Regions from separate parts of the Homo sapiens genome. Here all the other regions are linked to region 1. The links are contacts of gene promoters, found by promoter capture Hi-C in blood cells and fetal thymus (Javierre and others, 2016). All regions are on one chromosome and are shown on one strand. The core of a region is centred on a gene start or on the middle of the fragment in contact, and the rest is flanking DNA. Distances in the headings are between cores, read along the strand shown. Region 1 holds the start of SPRYD7 (SPRY domain containing 7). Region 2 holds the start of NUDT15 (nudix hydrolase 15). Region 3 overlaps C13orf42 (chromosome 13 open reading frame 42). Region 4 has its middle 97 kb from the start of RNASEH2B-AS1. Region 5 has its middle 67 kb from the start of RNASEH2B-AS1. Region 6 has its middle 49 kb from the start of RNASEH2B-AS1. Region 7 overlaps RNASEH2B (ribonuclease H2 subunit B).

What was found. Contacts are between HindIII fragments. The CHiCAGO score rates a contact against its expected background, and 5 or more counts as called.
Region 2: a contact is called between the fragment with the promoter of NUDT15 here and the fragment with the promoter of SPRYD7 in region 1, in 4 of 17 cell types (total CD4 T cells, non-activated CD4 T cells, neutrophils and 1 more). The highest score is 6.0, in total CD4 T cells.
Region 3: a fragment that was not itself captured here is called in contact with the fragment with the promoter of SPRYD7 in region 1 in 1 of 17 cell types (fetal thymus); the score reaches 6.3 in fetal thymus.
Region 4: a fragment that was not itself captured here is called in contact with the fragment with the promoter of SPRYD7 in region 1 in 1 of 17 cell types (fetal thymus); the score reaches 5.9 in fetal thymus.
Region 5: a contact is called between a fragment that was not itself captured here and the fragment with the promoter of SPRYD7 in region 1, in 1 of 17 cell types (total B cells). The highest score is 6.0, in total B cells.
Region 6: a fragment that was not itself captured here is called in contact with the fragment with the promoter of SPRYD7 in region 1 in 3 of 17 cell types (total B cells, fetal thymus and non-activated CD4 T cells); the score reaches 5.6 in total B cells.
Region 7: a fragment that was not itself captured here is called in contact with the fragment with the promoter of SPRYD7 in region 1 in 5 of 17 cell types (total B cells, naive CD4 T cells, total CD4 T cells and 2 more); the score reaches 9.0 in total B cells.

What each region holds. Positions count from the first base shown.
Region 1 is chr13:49,934,998-49,937,628 of GRCh38, reverse strand. SPRYD7 (SPRY domain containing 7) reads left to right here and starts at 1,289. Exons shown (of 5, transcript NM_020456.4): 1 at 1,289-1,499. The coding sequence starts at 1,394. RefSeq lists enhancers at 309-358, 1,229-1,478 and a silencer at 939-1,188. The HindIII fragment of the contact is 4,962 bases long and covers 1-2,631 here.
Region 2 is chr13:48,036,400-48,039,030 of GRCh38, reverse strand. It overlaps NUDT15 (nudix hydrolase 15), which reads right to left and starts at 1,305. Exons shown (of 3, transcript NM_018283.4): 1 at 1,127-1,305. The coding sequence starts at 1,284. It overlaps LOC124903172 (a long non-coding RNA gene), which reads left to right and starts at 1,039. Exons shown (of 2, transcript XR_007063788.1): 1 at 1,039-1,425. RefSeq lists enhancers at 809-968, 1,019-1,258, 425-1,300, 1,301-2,177. The HindIII fragment of the contact is 6,950 bases long and covers 1-2,340 here.
Region 3 is chr13:51,080,868-51,083,498 of GRCh38, reverse strand. It overlaps C13orf42 (chromosome 13 open reading frame 42), which reads left to right. Exons shown (of 4, transcript NM_001351589.3): 4 at 1-1,380. Among named protein-coding and RNA genes, the nearest start is that of C13orf42, 29 kb to the left of the region's middle. The HindIII fragment of the contact is 1,139 bases long and covers 812-1,950 here.
Region 4 is chr13:51,005,960-51,008,590 of GRCh38, reverse strand. It overlaps the pseudogene GUCY1B2. Among named protein-coding and RNA genes, the nearest start is that of RNASEH2B-AS1, 97 kb to the right of the region's middle. The HindIII fragment of the contact is 627 bases long and covers 995-1,621 here.
Region 5 is chr13:50,976,191-50,978,821 of GRCh38, reverse strand. No RefSeq gene overlaps it. Among named protein-coding and RNA genes, the nearest start is that of RNASEH2B-AS1, 67 kb to the right of the region's middle. The HindIII fragment of the contact is 2,127 bases long and covers 270-2,396 here.
Region 6 is chr13:50,958,487-50,961,117 of GRCh38, reverse strand. It overlaps a transcript of RNASEH2B not described here. Among named protein-coding and RNA genes, the nearest start is that of RNASEH2B-AS1, 49 kb to the right of the region's middle. The HindIII fragment of the contact is 1,556 bases long and covers 568-2,123 here.
Region 7 is chr13:50,938,469-50,941,099 of GRCh38, reverse strand. All of the region lies in intron 5 of RNASEH2B (ribonuclease H2 subunit B), which reads right to left. Among named protein-coding and RNA genes, the nearest start is that of RNASEH2B-AS1, 29 kb to the right of the region's middle. The HindIII fragment of the contact is 6,799 bases long and covers 1-2,631 here.

The DNA of each region.
Region 1 (2,631 bases), core at 40-2,539:
GTTAATTCTAGAGGTCGTCCCAGACATTTCCAGATGCCAAGCGGTATCTTTTTTTTTTTTTTTTTTTTTTTGGAGACAGAGTCTCTGTTGCCCAGGCTGGAGGGCAGTGGCGCGATCTAGGCTCACTGTAACCTCCGCCTCCCGGGTTTAAGCGATTCTCGTGCCACAACCTCCTGAGTGGCTGGGATTACAGGCGTGCACCACCGCACCCAGCTAATTTTTGTATTTTTAGTAGAGACGGGGTTTCACCATGTTGGCCATCCTGGTCTTGAACTCCTGACCTCAGGTGATCCGCCCACCTCAGCCTCCCAAAGTGCTGGGATTACAGGCGTGAGCCACTGCACCCGGCCTGAAGATGTAAAATCTACCACGGAAGGATGATCTAAGTGGGGAAGGAGATGACAGGTGACAGCCTCCCGTGTGGAAGCAGAAAGTAGCGGACGGTAGGAGCCGAAGGCTTCCCTCGGGACCCAGCAGACTTCCCGCAGCCTCCTGGGTTCCCGTCACATTCCTCGGAACCCTCAGTGCACCAGACAGGGGGAGCTTGGAAGAGGCAGGTCAAGAATCGCCCCCGACCCCGCCCCAGCGTTCTGCTCCCAGGGCGGCCTCCCACGCGCCCCGGACCACGCAGCCCGATGGGCCAGGTAGGGCGCGTCTCTGCACCGAAAATGCATTAGGGCCCGCGTGAGCCCCGGTGAACATCCACAGTGCAGTCACTAACAGGCATTACTCCTGGGGCCCACGTGAGTCTATTTAGCATGTGAGGGAAACCAGCCACGGCAGGGAGACTGGGGCTCTCCGTGGTGGCAAAGCCTGCTCAACCTGGGCCCGCGGAGGGAAAACTCGGAAGTCATTTCCATTAGCTCCCCTTCCCCCAAACTGATTCGCTTCTGTCAATCCATCCCTAGAAATAATGTCGAGGCCGGGACCAAGGGGTGCTGCGTTTTAAAAATTCTGCATAGGAAAACCCCTGGAAGTACTGAGGGACAGACAGCCCCACTCACCTGTCAGCCCTGGGGGCGTGCGCGAAACCGCCCAAGGAGAAAAAACCAGCTGGTGCGCAGGCGCACGCCGTCCCACATCCGCAGGCCCGCAACGCCACGCCCCCTGCCACGCCTCCGCGCGCCACTAGCCCCACCCGTCTCCCCGGCCCAGCCCGGCCGCTCGCCCTGTCCGGTCTCTCCCCGGCCCCTTGATTCTCCGCGTCTTCCTCGCAGGCCAGCCTAAGCTCAGCCTGCATTGCGCCCTCCCGGCCTAGGGTGTCGCTGTACCGGCCTCCGAGCTCCACATAGACAAGTCCGGACCTCGGGCGGGGGCAGGAGACGGAGCTGAGCGGCGGGGGGCAGTGTCGCCTCGGTCTAGGGACGGCGGCGGAGTCGGTGGTCCCTGCGCGATGGCCACCTCGGTGTTGTGCTGCCTGCGGTGCTGCAGAGACGGGGGGACTGGCCACATCCCTCTGAAGGAGATGCCGGCCGTGCAGCTGGACACGCAGCACATGGGTAAGGGCCCTCCCTTCCCCAGACCCAACGGCTCACGGGGGCCGGGCGCGGCGGGCAGGGGGACCTTCAGGGTCAGAGGGTCCCCACGCTGCCCCGCCGCGCCGGCGACGCTGCGCCGACACCATTTCGTCTCGCAGATCTCTCCAGAAGCCGGCGGACTCCACCTGGGCCCGGTTCTGTGTTCAAGGCTGCGCAGCCCTCTCTGTGTCTGTCATCGCGAATGGGCGTGTGGACCTCCCATTTTCACAGGAATCTCGGAGGCTTCCTCCGGAGATGTCACACGTCCTCGGGCGAGGGGGCGGAGAGTGCCCTTCTGGCGCGCCCCAGTGAAAACCTACACATTTTCAGAATGCTTCTAGGTCCGGTCTTGCTCCTCCTCCTGCCCTGACTGTCGGTCCTGTCTCTTGAGCCCCATCATTTATAGGTTGAATCCTATATTATTGGAAGTAATTTTCCTCTCACCTCCTAAAGTCGAAACAAGGCAGACTGCAGAAGTCTGAAGTCGCACCTCAGGTCAGAACTTGCCATTTCAACTAAAACCTCCCATTGCCCGACTCCTTAGTCATTGTGAGAGGTACTGTAATTTCATCTGACTGGCCTCTTCCCAACAGGTCTAACTGTTGAAAAATAAAATAGCACTTTGCTCCTTTGCATCTTGCTTTATCCTTTTAATTCCAAATCCATATAATTTATCTAACATTCTTCCTCTCCCATCATAGCCTCTTTCACCACCTTATTATTTCTTAGACTTTTCCCAGGTAGTTTCATGCTTCTGGAATGTGGTTCTAGAAGGAGAGATTTCCCAATATAATTATTTCAGTTAGAGTACTGTCTTTTTGTGGATTATTTTATTCTAACTGTACTTCTGCACTTTTGATTTTTTACACGTTTCTGATTGTTTAAAGGACAGTGCATTGAAATAAAAAGGCACTTCTTAATATTTATGATAAAACTCTCTCGCCCAGTTTCCTTATAATTCTGGAAACACTCTGCCCACTGTATTTTTGTATAACACATACTAAATGTGATAACTATATAATCACCTTGTATGTGTGTATTTACTTTTAATTCTCAGATCTCCCAAATGTAGTACAGAACCTTAATACATAAGTAATCTTTAAATTATTTTTTA
Region 2 (2,631 bases), core at 56-2,555, 1.9 Mb after region 1:
TCAGAGCAGCATCAGTCACCTGAATGGCTTGCTCTCTCTCCTCCTCCAACACACTGGAGAAAGAAGGAAACTCAGAGACAGCCAGGTGAGAAGAGGAGGAGGATACAGAAAAGCAGAACAATGGCTCACACCTCCTTTATGCACTGCAGGGGAGGGATTAGAAACTGGAAGTGACACTGAAGGTTTAAATTGGATTGGACTTTTAAATGCTTGGAAGTGAATCATACTGACCCAAATGTGATTTATTTTTATAACCAAGTGACAAGAAAACTATAGAATTTGCAGGAAACGTCACTGAAGAGGGAAAGAAAAAATCATGTTTGAAGGCAGTGGAAGGAGAAAATAAAACCATTTCCTGTTTGTTCTCCCATCAAATTTAGCCCACTGAGTATGCCAGTTATGTAAAGATCAAATGAAAGTATACATGCAAAGAGCTTGGCATATTATCCAGCCTTTAACAAAAAGCCCATTAGAGCTCAATGTTGGCTATGGTCATTGACCTCACGGGTGGATCACCTGAGGTCAGGAGTTCGAGACCAGCCTGGCCAACATGGCGAAACCCCGTCTCTACTAAAAATACAAAAATTAGCACGGCGTGGTAGCGGGCGCCTGTAATCCCAGCTACCAGGAGGCTGAGACACAAAAATCGCTTGAACCCAGGAGGCGGAGGTTGCAGTGACTGGAGATAGCACCACTGCACTCTGGCCTGGGCTACAGAGCGAGACACAGTCTCAAATCAATCAATCGATCAATCAATCAATCACATGGAAACGGTGCAATGTCTTAGCTGACAATATCGGGCTGCTGGAGGTTTACACACACCTGCTTTCCTCCTTTTGTGTGTAAGCTGTGAGAAACACACCTCACAGACGAACTCCCAACCACCACCCAGCAGGGGCGCAGCCGGAAAGACCCAGCTAGCAAAGACCTCGCCTGACCCAGCACAGCGCCCCCTCCTGGGCGCGATCCTACGTCGCCCAGAAGTCGAGGGGAGGAACCGAGGGAACGCGCAAGAAAGGACGCAGCGTCAGCGCGGACGTTCTCACGCACGGCACACGGAAGCAAGCACGGCGTGAGTTCGTCCCTCTGCGCACGCCCCGGTTTCCTCGCGTCCGCGGCTGCTCACCCGAACTCCAGATGACCTCCAGGGAGTTGGAAACTGCCAGCTCCAACCGAGCCTTTCCTCTTCCCCAGGAGGACGCAACGCGGATGCTTGCAGCTGGTCACCACGACTCCGACTCCGACTCCTGGCCGCCGCCCGCGCGGCTGTGCGCTGGCCGTCATAGCGCGCGGGAGGACGCGCCTGGCAGCGGCAGGAAGTGACGCGCTCACTACCCCGTCCCGCGGCCGCAGCCAATCTCTCCCCGCGAGGGCGGAGGCGCCGAAATCAAAGCGAGAGCGCCTCGGCCTCTCCAGCTGTCCGCGGTGCGTAATGCGTCGCGGAGGGCTATCAGGTTGGGGAATGCCGTGTTTCCTTCCGAAGGGCAGCGTGCCTTAGAGTTTCGCTGTAACTAAAGTCGCTTACAGTTGTGCTTTGAATATTCATCACCCGTCAGCCTATCCACTCCCAGATTCCTGCAAACCATGCATTTACATGTACAAGCCGCCTGCTCTTACCAACCTCGGCACCACTGCACATTCTTTTTTCCGTGAATGACCTCGCCCACCATGGTGCACCCATTTGCCCTGTAGCTCAAATCAGCGTGGTACCAGGATAAGGATAGGTCGTTTAGAAACATCCCATTATAAACAACTATGCTTAAGGTATATTCATAAGTCATGGGAGGAAATAAAGGCTAATTGATAAATCATGCTGGGAAGAGTTAGTTACAAACAGTGGAAAACAGACATTTTCAGATGTTTGCACACCATGCACCATGCAAAATACAAACCAGCTGAATCATAAAAACAAATGACTAGTTACTGGGAGGGTTTTCTCTCTTTCTCATTATTTTTACTTCTACCAAAGTAATGTGCACATACTGGTAATTTTATTTTATTTTAATTTTCACCAAGCTAGCTAATTTTCTTTCTTTTTTTTTTTTTTGTGGAGGTGGGCTGTCGGTCTTTTGTCGAGGCTGATCTCCAACTCCTGTCCTCAAGCAGTCCTTCCACTTGGGCCTACCAGAGTGCTGGGATAACAGGCGTGAACCACTGCGCCTGACCTATAGCTATAATTTTAAGAAGTAAAATGGTGCAAAAACCGCAACAAGAGCAACCTGACCCTCCTACTTTCAGAAACAATCACTTTTAACTCTTTGAACTGTATTTCTGATATTTGCCTACTTATTTCTAAGTAATATGCTTACTCTCCATGTTATACTAAATGGGTATTAAGCTTTTCACAGCATCTCTCCTCACTATCAACATTCACATTCATTACAAAGGTACTTACAATATCTTCTCAAAAAATGGTAGTATATAAAAAGGATAATATATTGAACAATGAGATTAATCCCAGAAATACTAGGTTGGCTTAATATTTGAAAAGCCAATGTAATTCAGCATATTAACAGAGGGAGAAAGGAAATACATATAATCATCTCAATAGATGCAGAAAAAAATTAATAAAATCCGATACTCAGTTGTGATTAAAAAAACTCCACAAAATCTCTGAGCAAACTAGAAATA
Region 3 (2,631 bases), core at 132-2,631, 1.1 Mb before region 1:
TCAGCTCCCCTTCACATAGGCAATTGACAAGAGAAGAAGGGAGATGGGGTGATTCTTTTCTTTTTCTTCTAATTCTTACCCAGAAAAATCTTTTTAAATATCCATGGAACCAGTTTATGACAGGCCACACCTTTCCCTTTCCCCAGTTAAGAGAACAATCAGAATCATTACGTTCTTTTGGTATAGAAAGGATTTCTGTATTTTAGGAACTATCTGAATCAGAATTACATTTAAAATATATTCTTTGTATTTCTAAATACTTTTTACATTTTTGCAATAGTTGTACCCATTCAAGCTTGAGAACCACTGGTTTGGAGAATATACTGAAATTTATCTATTCTCACTTCTTTTTTTGGCATTTTCTTGTAAACCAGTCTGTGCATGTATAAGGGTCTTTGGGCAGAAGGAAGGGAGAGAGACAAAAAACAGAAAACAAAACAAAACAAAGAAAACCACAATCATTTGAATTAAGCCAAGGATGTTCTAGGCTAAGGTCAGGCTAAGAACTGAACAGAGGCTTCCTTTCTGCCATGCCTGTGGGATGATATTCTTATTGTTCCATTTTTTAGGAAGAACCTTTTGTTTATGTGAACCTGATCATATGAATCTAAGAATATGTAACTCTTACAAATAAAAAACAGCTAGTAATTATATTGCATTCTTAGAAATTTTATCTCAACATGTTTTCAGAATGAAACCATACTAGAAATGTTTTAATACCTCTCTTTATTATTTTTCGAGTGCCAATGTCAATGTTTGGAAAGTTTCTTTCATTTTGTTGCTTGTACTAACCCAGCTATAGCCAGAAGCTTGACTGGAAAGTAAATGTTTAGGAGATTTGTTTTATAAACTGCATTAAAGCACTGCCATTTATCACCACAGATCTTTTATTTTCCCTAAATGTGGCCTTGTTTGAAGCCTCATCTATAAAAGTTCATTGTTGGGGATAAACTCAGGATAAAGGTGTCTTTACTCTGCCTCTTATCAAACTACAGTTTATCATAGATCCACCCTGAAATTATGTGGTGAAGATACTGTGTACATTTTGTTTTTAAAGATAAGAAAAAATAAACATGACTGCGAGGATGTTTGGAGTCCTGATTTTTTAAAAAGCATTTATTGCTTATGGCACATGAAGCTGTGCCGTCTTATTTTGCTTTGTTTTGTATGTTTTTTGTCTTTCATGAGACTATACACAGCCTGAAAAATTCCATGATTGGGAAACAGAAGGTTGTCTTGTCTTTGGGGATCATTTTTAGGTGTTTGAAGTTGGTGATAAACCCAAGGATCTGTGCTCTGCCTGGGGAATCTTGAGATGGTGTCTGGTGGGGTTTGAGATAAATGAAATCTGAAACAATAAAAGTCAATTCAGAAAACCCAGTTGAGTTGACAGATTCTTTTCTTCCTTGGATTGGCCAGTTATTCAATGGAATCAAGCTGATCACTGAGGCTATGTTAGATCTCTGGCTTTCCCAGGATTCTCAGTTTTGATACATGAAAATCTACCTATCCCTAGACAGAATGTCAAAAAGAGAGGATGTGCATCCGTGGCATCTGGCTTGTTTTTTAGCACCTGGTTTCTAGCTCCCGCTACAGACTGTCTTCTGCTTCATGGGGCAAGATGCATGGAGCTGCTAGTTTGATTTGAATCGTGTGTACCCAGCCATGTGCCATGCAACTGAGAGCATTGCTGCCAAGACCGACCTTCCTGGTGCCCATTCTCAGACACAGAGCCCAAAGTGTCTCTAACAGGACACTGTGTTCCTCTCACCACTGTTCGCCTTTGCAGAGAGAATGAGTTTCCTGTTGCTGCTGTAATAAATTACCACAGACTTAAAGGCTTAAAACAATATATATTTATGCTTTTACAGTCTGGAAGTCAGAAGAACCAAAATCAGTTTCACCAGGTTAGGTCAAGATGTTGGCAGGGCTGTGTTCCTTCTGGAAGCTTTAGAGGAGAATCCATTTCCTTGCTTTTTTCAGCTTTCAGGGGCTTCCTGCATTCCTTGGCTGGTGACCCCATCCTTGCATCACTCCAACCTATTGATTCCATCATCATGTCTCCACCTGCTCAGTCTGTGCTCCTGCTTCCCATTTATAAGGATTTTTTTTTTTTTTTTTGAGACAGAGTTTTGCTCTTGTTGCCCAGGCTGGAGTGCAATGGGCACGATCTTGGCTCACCGCAGCCTCTGCCTCCTGGGTTCAAGTGATTCTCTTGCCTCAGCCTCCTGAGTAGCTGGGATTACAGGCATGTGCCACCATGCCTGGCTAATTTTGTATTTTTAGTAGAGACGGGGTTTCCCCATGTTGGTCAGGCTGGTCTCGAACTCCTGACCTCAGGTGATCTGCCCACCTTGGCCTCCCAAAGTGCTGGGATTACAGGTGTGAGCCTACGTGCCCGGCCCATTTATAAGGATCTTTGTGATTACATCACTCTCACCTGAGCAATCTCTCCATCTCCAAATCCTTAATTTAATCAAATCTGCAAAATATCTTTTGCCATATAAAATGACATTCACAGGTTCTGGGGATTAGGATGGAAACATCTTTGGGAAGCCATTATCTAGCCAACCATACAGCATCACAAGATGTTCTAGTCCTAACAGACCCAGCCCAATTCCCTTTTAAGCT
Region 4 (2,631 bases), core at 59-2,558, 1.1 Mb before region 1:
AAGCAACATATAGGTGGTAATAACAGTCATGAGAGTTGATGAGATCAACCCAGGGAAGGATGCAGTGTGCAAAGAACAGTGGGAAAAGAATGGAATCCTGTGCAGAACCAATATTTAAGTGGCACAGAAGGAAGAGGAGCCCAGGGAAGAGACAGGAGAAGAAATACTCAGAAAGGACCAGGAGAGTTGAGGGTGAGAAGCACTCTTGTGGATGACTTTAGGAAGGAAGAATTGAACAAAAATGTCAAATGTAGTAATAAGGACTGAAAAATACTCACTAGAGGTTTTGGGGACATTCTCAAAAGTGGTTGTAGTAGAATGGTGGGATAGACGTTGGGCTGAAGAATAAAAAGAGGAGAAAGTTTGCATGAGATTAAAGCAGGTGAGAGGCTGTTTTGTTTGTTTCTGTTTAGGATGGAAGAGACATAAGCACACTGAAAAGCAGAAGGAGAAAGGCAAATGGAATGGGAGATGAAGATAAGCGTGGGGTGGCCAATGGAGCAAGGCCCAGAGGTGGTGGGAAGGGGGTGAGGGTGAGGAGACCCTGGACAAGAAATATACCTCATCCTCGGAGATTGGGGGACAGGATGGTGTGGTCATGGGGTGAGAAGTCACAGGCTCTCACCTGTAATCAATGTAATTTTGTAGATGAATCAGGGCATAAAGTAGGAGGCACAGCCACCAGCGTATGAGTGAGGGGAGCAGATGCCAAATGGAGGCCCATGAGGACTGTGGTGAAGGTCTGAACTCTCTACCAACCTGGCCAAGGGCAAGGGAAGGCTCGATGGAGTGCCGAGGCAGGTGGTCATGAATTTGAATCCTCATTGGTCTGAGTGGTTCTTTGGCTTTTCTCTAACATCACTTGGTGGCTAGTAAATAAATAAACAGGGAAACGTTTTGTAATTACCCCATAGCTCTGTCTCTTTTCATGGTCCCTTCCCTATAGTCCTCCTCTTCAGTTCCTTGGCAGACAGAAATTGTGGTGGAGAAAGCTTGGGTAGTTAGGATGAGCATAGTAGCAAGCATGGGGTATATGGTGCACTTGGGGAAGATGGAAAGAAGAGTGTTGATACCCAAGAGTCTTACGTGGCAGAAACATGAAAGGTGGTGTCCACATGGGCACTGACAGCATGGTGTGTAGAAACGTGAGAGATGCCCATATGAGGGTTGAGCTGGAGGGAGGAAAATTGGTGGCAGGGTTGGGAGGGTTTTGATGGGTCCCTGTGTTCTCTTTTGGCCTTTGGCATCCTGTTCAGAATATCTCATCCTCACTTTCCCCACGGCCTCTGTCCTGCTTCAGCAGGCAGATGTCTGGGATCTTCCCTCCCCTGCTGTTGTGTGTCCTGTGTCCTGGACTTTTCCTCTTGAGTAGCCCTTTGCATTGTAGCCAACTCTTGAGTTACAGACCCACAATCTTTGATATCTGATGCACTTTTTTTCTCTGTGCAGAGCCTTGAAAAATCAAGGGTTTAAAATCATTGAGAGGGGTGAAATTGAAGTGAAAGGTAAAGGGAGAATGACCACATACTTTTTGATCCAGAACTTGAATGCCACAGAGGATGAGATCATGGGGAGATCTAAAACCCCAGTTGATCACAAGGGTAAGCAAAAAAGAGAAGCTTTGTCATTAGTGTTGAGTAGTTTTTCCACTAACCACTTCAGATATGTTTATTATTTGCAGGGTCAACACAGAAAGCATCCTTGCCCACCACCAAGCTCCAGGGCTCAGTTCAACCATCTTGCCCTGAACACTCTTCTCTTGCATCCTGGTTATTATGACGTTCTTTGAGCTGGGCCGATAGATCCAGCTGAAGAGTTCTACATACATTAGTCTTCAAGGTTCTTCTCTGGGCGTTTCCCATGCAGCTCTCTGGTAGCTGGGGAATGATTTGTGAGTGCTTCCTCTGCTCCACAGCCTCAGAGGCTCCAGCACAGGCTTCCCTCGCGTGCTGGAACCTTTTTCACATTTTGTTCTAGCTTCCAAAACTGGGATGAGGGACAAAATTTGTGACTCACCCAGCTCCAGGAATGACAAGAGGGTGGGAGTTTAGGGTAAAAAAACCCAGTACTAAGCTGGACCAGGGATTACTGTTTGGCTCATGGTACCCCCAAAAAGAAGCTGGAATCCAATGGCGAGCTCTCCATCAGCTGCAAGGCTGATCAGTCCCACACACTCAGGGTCCCTTAGCCACAGCCTGGCTAAGACAGAAGTGCTGACCTGAAGGGGAAACCTGGTAATAGGAGGCAAGCCTTTCTGAACCTCCAAGAAGGGAATGAATTCCTTCTGACAGGAGCTAATCTTTAGCCACTCCAGAGGCCCACAAGGGGAATCTCAAAGTCCAGAGGTTCCTTATTTACACAGCTATTACACGCAGTATGTCTCTTTGGGACATGTGGATTATGATGACTATTTTTAAAAGTGGGGCTATCCCAAAGAAAAGATGGATTATTTGAAGAATTTTTAAAATTGTTGTCATAATGCTTTCATTCTAATATCAGCTCACTGTAGTATCCCTGTGAGCTATAGTTGGTTTAGGCCACATTTTACTGTTGTAGACACTGAGATACAAATATCTAAATAAAAAACAAGAAATAACTTTGGTAATAAGGACGAGGAGCAGTCCTCATTAG
Region 5 (2,631 bases), core at 84-2,583, 1.0 Mb before region 1:
CTGTCCTGCCTGAGATTCATGGGCTGGTTACACTCCAGCCACCGCTGCCTCTGTCACCCTGCCTTCTACTCTAGCTCCATGGCAAATATTTAAAAACCAGACCTTTTCATAGGCATCATACTGATTTAGTCTCTAATCATGAATCCAACCAAAATATCTGGATCCTCTCTGCCATCAGTCCATGGTGACCAGATCTGGGCTGTGTTAGGGGTCATTGCATTCAGCCTGTACTCTGGAAATTACACTCCCAACATTCATTTACTAAAGCTTTAACAAAATTATTCAGACAAACTATCCATTTAAAAAGTAGACTGAGTAGTTATCTTTGAAGACCCAAGGAATCTTTACCCAAGATTAATAAGAAAAAACAAACTGAAAAAAAAACTGGTGATTTTGTTCACATTAAAAAAAAAATGCTGCATGTTAACCATCTGTCATGGTTTACTAATTAAATCACTGCAACTAATCTTGTATTAATATTTTTTTAAAGTTAAAAATGGGTTTCCTGAAAATGCTTAGAATTTCTGTGGAATTGCTTAGAAAGTCTTTTTACTTTTTGAACTTCCTTGGCCTTATAAAACTGTCAGCAGAGCAAAGTAAGGGCCAGTTTTCTGCAGCCATAACTCCCCCATCTCTTTTACAAGTCTTTATTCTTCGGAAATATAAAGGGTTGTGTTGAAAAGCATTAACTGGGGGCCGGGCGCGGTGGCTCACGCCTGTAATCCCAGCACTTTGGGAGGCCGAGGCGGGTGGATCATGAGGTCAGGAGATCGAGACCATCCTGGCTAACAAGGTGAAACCCCGTCTCTACTAAAAATACAAAAAATTAGCCGGGCGCGGTGGCGGGCGCCTGTAGTCCCAGCTACTCGGGAGGCTGAGGCAGGAGAATGGCGTGAACCCGGGAAGCGGAGCTTGCAGTGAGCCGAGATTGCGCCACTGCAGTCCGCAGTCCGACCTGGGCGACAGAGCGAGACTCCGTCTCAAAAAAAAAAAAAAAAAAAAAAAAGAAAAGCATTAACTGGGAAAATAAATGAGCAGCAAAATTATCAGTTTCCATTCAGTGATTAGTTGCCTCTGGTCTGCTTGTTAACAATGGAAAGCCTTTGAAGGCTGACGCCTTTCTTTGCACCTGGGTAAATGAAGTCACCTGACTTTGCCCTCACCTTGCCTGGGCCTGTCCAACCCTAGGGCCCCCAGATAGCTGCTGGCCCTCTAGGCTGTGTCCCCACTGGCCTGTTAGCCAGCCCTTATGGTTCTAAGAACAACTTATCTTGGAATTTCCACTGCCAGCTTTAGACTCTAGCACCAGGCAGAGAAAAAGTGAAATTATATCCCAAAGAGATTCTTCAAACCCAAAGAGCTAAGACTACTTCCTTGCTGAATTCTCACTGCTTCTGATTCTGAAGACAGGGAAGGTGTTGTCAATTCCTTTCTTTCCCTTGGGCCTTGCCTTGGGCTGCACCTGCCTGAATCCCATTCATTCCAGCTCAGTTCCACCTTCTCCATAAGAGCCTCCCATCTACACCTGGCAACCCTGTAGCTCCCTTTTTATGGCTCTTTATTCTGTTTGAGAACCTACATTTCCATCCCTTCAAAGCCAAACTCCTCTGTCTGACTTCAAGACATGAATAGCCTTACCTCACACTGCTTCTAGACACAGATTCCATTCCCTGAGCAATCTCCCTGGGTGTTACAAAGGAAAGATAAATCACAGCTCTGCCAATTAACAACTCTTGCATCTCATGGTCTGCTGTCTTGTCTAGAGAACGGTTAAAAAATGGCAAATGGATAGATTTACATTTAGTGGAGGAAGGAGCTTCCCAATATAGGAAATAACATACACCTCCTCATCACTGATGATGAACTGTTAACAAATAATCAAAATAAAGTTAATTCACATCATCTTATATGTAAAGTGACACATGTATTTCTTAGTGGGCAACTGGTGGTGTAGACTACTGGTCATTATTAAAAACCATCTCCTGAACTCTGTTCTGCACCCCAGCCACGTCCTTAGGAGTGACCCAATCCGCCATAGTCCTGATTTGTATAGTTTCGAGTTCCACTTGCTTGTCTTAGTTGCTCCAGTCTTCTCATGTGGTTGAGGCAAAAGGTCTTATTTCTTCCTCTTATCAGTGTGCCTGCTAATTGGCTGTGAGTTCGAAAACCAGAAACCAGAAATTTTAAGAAGCATTTACAAAATAAGAATTCACTTTGGTGGAAGGATGGACCTTGTGAAATCTGATTGTCAAAGGGGATGTGTCGGGGAGGAAGGAAAGGAGAGTGTGGTGTCAGAAGAGGCTGCAAATTAAAATCCCAGTGCCTGGACCATACCTCAGACTGATTATTTGCAGCATCTGTAGGAGTGGGGCCCAGCATCAGTAGTTCTTAAAGCTTCCCAGGTGATTCCAATGTGCAGCCAACATTGAGAAGCTCTTGCTCCCCTGATGCTGAGGCGTCACTCTCTGTGACAGGCTGGCCAACAATCTAAACACACAGTAAAGAGGGCAGAGATGGTGAAGCCAGCAGAACAACATCAGGGCCTGAGAGGAGCTGCTGGCTCATCTCTGCCCTGCTGCCACTTCAGATACAGAAAATTCATCTTCATGAGAAAACAATTCAAATGGGCTT
Region 6 (2,631 bases), core at 96-2,595, 1.0 Mb before region 1:
GATATTGGGATAGACTGTGATTCCTGCCATGGTGTACTGAGAAAGACATATTACTCCTGGAGGTGCCCTAAGAGTATGACTTGAATTTAATCAAAAAGAAATATTAGAATAAGAAATATTCCAGCAAATATTTACCCTGTACTCAAAAATGTCAAGTAAGACAAAGAACAGATGAGAAACTCTTGCAGATTAAAGAAAACTATAACAACAAAAAGGCTCCAGTGCTAGATAGTTTTACCTCTAAGATTCTTAAACATTTTCCAGCAATAGAATATAATAATGCAAAATGAATCCTTCCAGAACATTGGAAAAAATGGAAAGCTAGCCTAATTCTAACGCTAAAGCCTAACAGCAGCATTGCTTATGAATATGTCTGCAAAATTCCTTAATAAAAGTGTAGAAAGTCTAATTGAAAACTATATTTGACAAAGGTTAAGAAAGATAGGATGTATCCATTATGCTATTGATCCTTTATCTACTGCCAGGGTGAGTTTATTAGACATTTGGGTACAGTTTGATAGTAAGTAGTAAAAACTTTATAGACACCTCAATAGATGCCAAAAAGCTTTCTGATAACAACCAACACCAATTATTAATTTAAACCTTAAGGAAACTAAGTATAAAAGGATGGATAGTCTTTATCATATTAGCAACAGCTAGTGTCAGAATTAATGGTAAAGCACATCAATAAAATCACCAATTAGACAAAGACGGCTATTATTACTCTTTAATACTGTTCTGGATATTCTAGCCCATGTAATATAATGTAAAATATATAATAAAAGAGGTGTAACTATTAGAAAGAATTGCATGCAATTTTTAAAAACTAAATTACATACTATATTATGTACTAAAACCCAAAATAAATAAAATGGAAAATTTTTCCATTAATAGTTTAGTAAACTGGTTATTTAAAAGATAAATATATAAAAATATAAAACTTTACCACAAAATGACCAGTTGGTAGACCTAGCTGGAAAAAAACAGATTTCATTAATAGCAATGAAAATATCTACACATACTCATACAAAGATATGTCTAGAACCTATTGAAGATGAAGAACCGAACATTAGTGAAAGGTATTCTTAAGACTTGAGTAACTAAAAAGAAATACTATATTCCCAAATAAGAATATTTAAGTTTGTAAAGATGTTTGTTTTCCCAAAGTAAGTTATGCATCTAACAAAATCTCAGTAAAAATCCCATTGGAACTTACTCTTAGAACTTGACAAAATAATCCTACAGATTAAATGAAAAACTAAACTGGTGAGAAAATAATTAAATTACAGCTTTACCTCACAGCATATTTAAACATAATTACACATTCTCTAGATGATTTAAGTAATTAAATATAAAACAAAAATAGGCCAGGCGTGGTGGCTCACGCCTGTAATCCCAGCACTTTGGGAGGCCAAGGCGGATGGATCACCTGAGGTTGGGAGTTCAAGACTAGCCTGACCAACATGGAGAAACCCCGTCTCTACTAAAAATACAAAATTAGCTGGGCGTGGTGGCACATGCCTGTAATCTCAGCTACTCGGGAGGCTGAGGCAGGAGAATCACTTGAACCCTGAAGGCGGAGGTTGTGGTGAGCTGAGATCACGCCATTGTACTCCAGCCTGGGCAACAAGAGCGAAACTCCATCTAAAAAAAAAACAAAAAAGAACCAAAAACATAACTATTAAAAAAATCAGAAGAAAATAAAAGTGTCTGGTTAAATTTCCTGTAAAATGAAATATCTTTCTAAGTACAATATCTGTGTAAAGGAAAAGTTTATGTATATATGTCTACATAAAAACTAAAAACACCTGCATGTCAAAAATCATAGGCAAAATTAAAGGCAAAGTATAAACCAAGAAAGGAAATTTACAACAAACACAGTAGAAATAATTAATGTCCTTAAGTTATAGAATACTTTTAGTCAATAAGAAAAATATTGATACTCTAATAATTTAGCAAAGAATATAAAAGACAATTCTCTATAAGATGACAATTGATTAGTAAGTATGAAAAAATGTTCAAAATCACTACTAATCAGGGAAATATGAATTAAAACCACAATAAAATGTTTTTACACTTATTTCCAAAGGTAACAACCAATGCTAACAAGGTGGCATTAAGCTTTCACACCCACTGTTTGTTAGAGTGCAAGACCATTAAAATAAGCCTAGAGTGCAAAAGCTTATAAACTTTCCATGAAATATATTCCCATAAATATATATTTGAAAATCCAATAAGCCCACATCCAAAAATCCATTATAAGGAAACAATAAAATATGTGGACAAATATTTACTTATAATCTGATTCTTCAAATAGTGAACATTTGTGAATAATCCAAATGTCCAAACAGGATCATGGTTATTAAATAATCAAATATCCAAATAATCAAAAATTATACTGTCATTAAAAAACATATTTATGAAGAACAGTTAGTAGTCTGGGAAAATAGTAACAAAATAATGTTTATAAAAAGGTAACTACTGTGATTTTTCACAGAATTAGAAAATAACTATTCTAAAATTCATATGGAACCAAAAAAAAGCTTGGATAGCCAAAGCAATCCTAAGCAAAAAGAACAAAGCCAGAGGTATCACATTACCCAACTGCAAACTATACTACAAGGCTACAGT
Region 7 (2,631 bases), core at 49-2,548, 1.0 Mb before region 1:
AGGCACATTTTATACATTTTCTTATTGAATGATCAGAATGAATCTCAGAATCAATTAATAAACCATGATTTGTCCCCATCTTCGAAGACTGGCTCTGAGTGACATGAAGTAAACTCTCCTAAGTCACTGAGGAAGTAGGCAAGAGCACCCAACTCCCAACCATGCTGACATCAAAGCTGTGGATCTGATGTTCACTTTACCAAGATCACTAGGTCTGCACTTTCCTCAGTACCTCCTAACAACCTCTCCTCCATGGCATATATAAAATTGCTTTCTATTTTTTTATGTCTCTAATGACTTATCTGATTCTTTTCCCAGCTCTGCTTCACCCTCCTCCAAAGTCAACTGTATCCTTTCATCTGGTGTGATCTCCTCCTAGATCAACAAGACTAAACAAACTAACCGGGAGGCCCAAAGCCCTGAACTAAGCCTCCATGTGTCTAAAACCCAGTGGTTCATCTTCCTCCTACACCACTCTCCTGAATATCGAGGCCTAAACCTCAGAGCCAGTGCTCACACTGGCCTTGCCTCCCACATTCCATCTCTCCATCCCATGGGAGGTAGGAAGTATAGAGAGAAAAGGAGCCAATATTATTTTGGGGGAAAGGGGCAAGTAAAAATAAATACTGTGTTAGAAATCAGGAGGCTTAGCTTCTAGTGCTGGATCAGTAAATATTGTTTTAAAAATGAATTTTATTTAGGTGTTCACGCAATGTTCATGTTCACACAATGGACACACCCATTTTAAATGTACAAATCGAGGAGTTTGGAAAAATGTATGCAGTCATGTAAGCATCATCCCCCAAAGTTCCCTGGAACCCTTATGTAGTCAATTCTCCCATGGCTACCCAGATCACAGGTCACCACTCATCCATCATTATAGGGCAATTCTTGCTTTATTCTGGAACACCATAGAAATGAAATGATATAGTATATACTTTTTGTGTCCAATTTCTTTTGCTCAACATTATTTCTGTGAGATTCATCCATTTTGTTGCAGCTAGCAGTAGTTCCTTACTTTGTACCAGGGAGTAGTAGAATTCCTGAGTTGTAAGAAATTGTCAAGTGGCTATATCATTTTAAGCCGTGGACAGCCAGGTAGGTAAGTTCCAACTGTCCCACAACTCACAATCTCCTTTTTTCTTAATGGCATTTTTCAAAAACAAAAGAGAATACTTTTGATAAAATACAATTTATAATTTTTTTACAGTTAGTGGGTTTTGTGTCCTAAGAAATCTTTGCCTCCCAAGACAACAAGGATTTTATCCTATGCTTTCTTCTAGAAGCTCAATAATTTTCATTTTTGAATTTAACATAGTGATCCATTTTGAATTAATTTTTCTGTATGAGGTAAGAATCAACGTTATTTTTCATATGTATACCAAATTCTTCCATCAACATTTGTTGTAAAGACTATCCTTTTTCCCACTGAATTATCTTCACACTTTTGGAAAAAAAAAATCAATTGACCATATAAGTGTGGGTTTATTTCTAGATTCTCTATTCTATTCCATTTATCTATATATTTATCCTTATACCAACACCAAATTTATTTTATTTTTATTTATTTTTTAAATTTAGGGACAGGGTCTCACTCTGTTACCCAAATTGGAGTGCAATTGTGTGATCACAGTTCACTGTAACCCCGACCTCCTGGGCTCAAGTGATCTTTCCTCCTCAGCCTCCCAAATAGTTGGAACTATAGGCACATACCACCACAGCTGGCTAATTTTTTTTTCTTTTGAAACAGAGTCTCGCTCTGTCACCCAGGCTGGAGGGCAGTGGCGCGATCTTGGCTCACTGCAAGCTCTGCCTCCTGGGTTCATGCCATTCTCCTGCTTCAGCCTCCCGAGTAGCTGGGACTACAGGTGCCCACCACCACACCTGGCTAATGTTCTTTGTATTTTTTAGTAGAGACAGGGTTTCACCGTGTTAGCCAGGATGGTTTCGATCTCCTGACGTCATGATCCACCTGCGCTGGCCTCCCAAAGTGCTGGGATTACAGGCGTGAGCCACCGTGCCTGGCCCACAGCTGCCTAATTTTTAAACTTTCTGTAGAAATGGGGTTTTGCTACTTTGCTCAGGCTGTTCTCGAACTCTCAGCCTCAAGCAATCCTCCTGCTTCGGCCTCCCAAACCGCTAGGATTACAGGCATGAGTCATTGTGCCTGATCTCCACATTTTCTTGATTATAGTAAGTCTTTAATTCAGTTTGTGTAAGTTCTCCAAATTCTTCTTTTTCAAAATTGTTTTGAATATTATAGGTCCTTTACATCAGGGCTCCCCAGTCCCTAAGCCATGTACTGGTACCAATCCATGGCCTGTGAGGAACTGGGCCACACAGCAGGAATGAGTGTCAGGCAAGTGAGCATTACTGGCTGAGCTCTGCCTCCTGTCAGAACAGTGATGGCATTAGATTCTCATAGGAGTGCGAACCCTATTGTCAACTGCACATGCGAGGGATCTAGGTTGTGTGCTCCTTATGAGAATCGAATGCCTGATGATCTGAGGTGGAACAGTTTCACCCCAAAGCCATCCCCCTCCCTGCCCCATCCATGGAAAAATTGTCTTCCTCAAAACCAGTTCCTGCTGCCAAAATTAGGTTGGAGACTGCTGCTTCTGCTGCTTTACA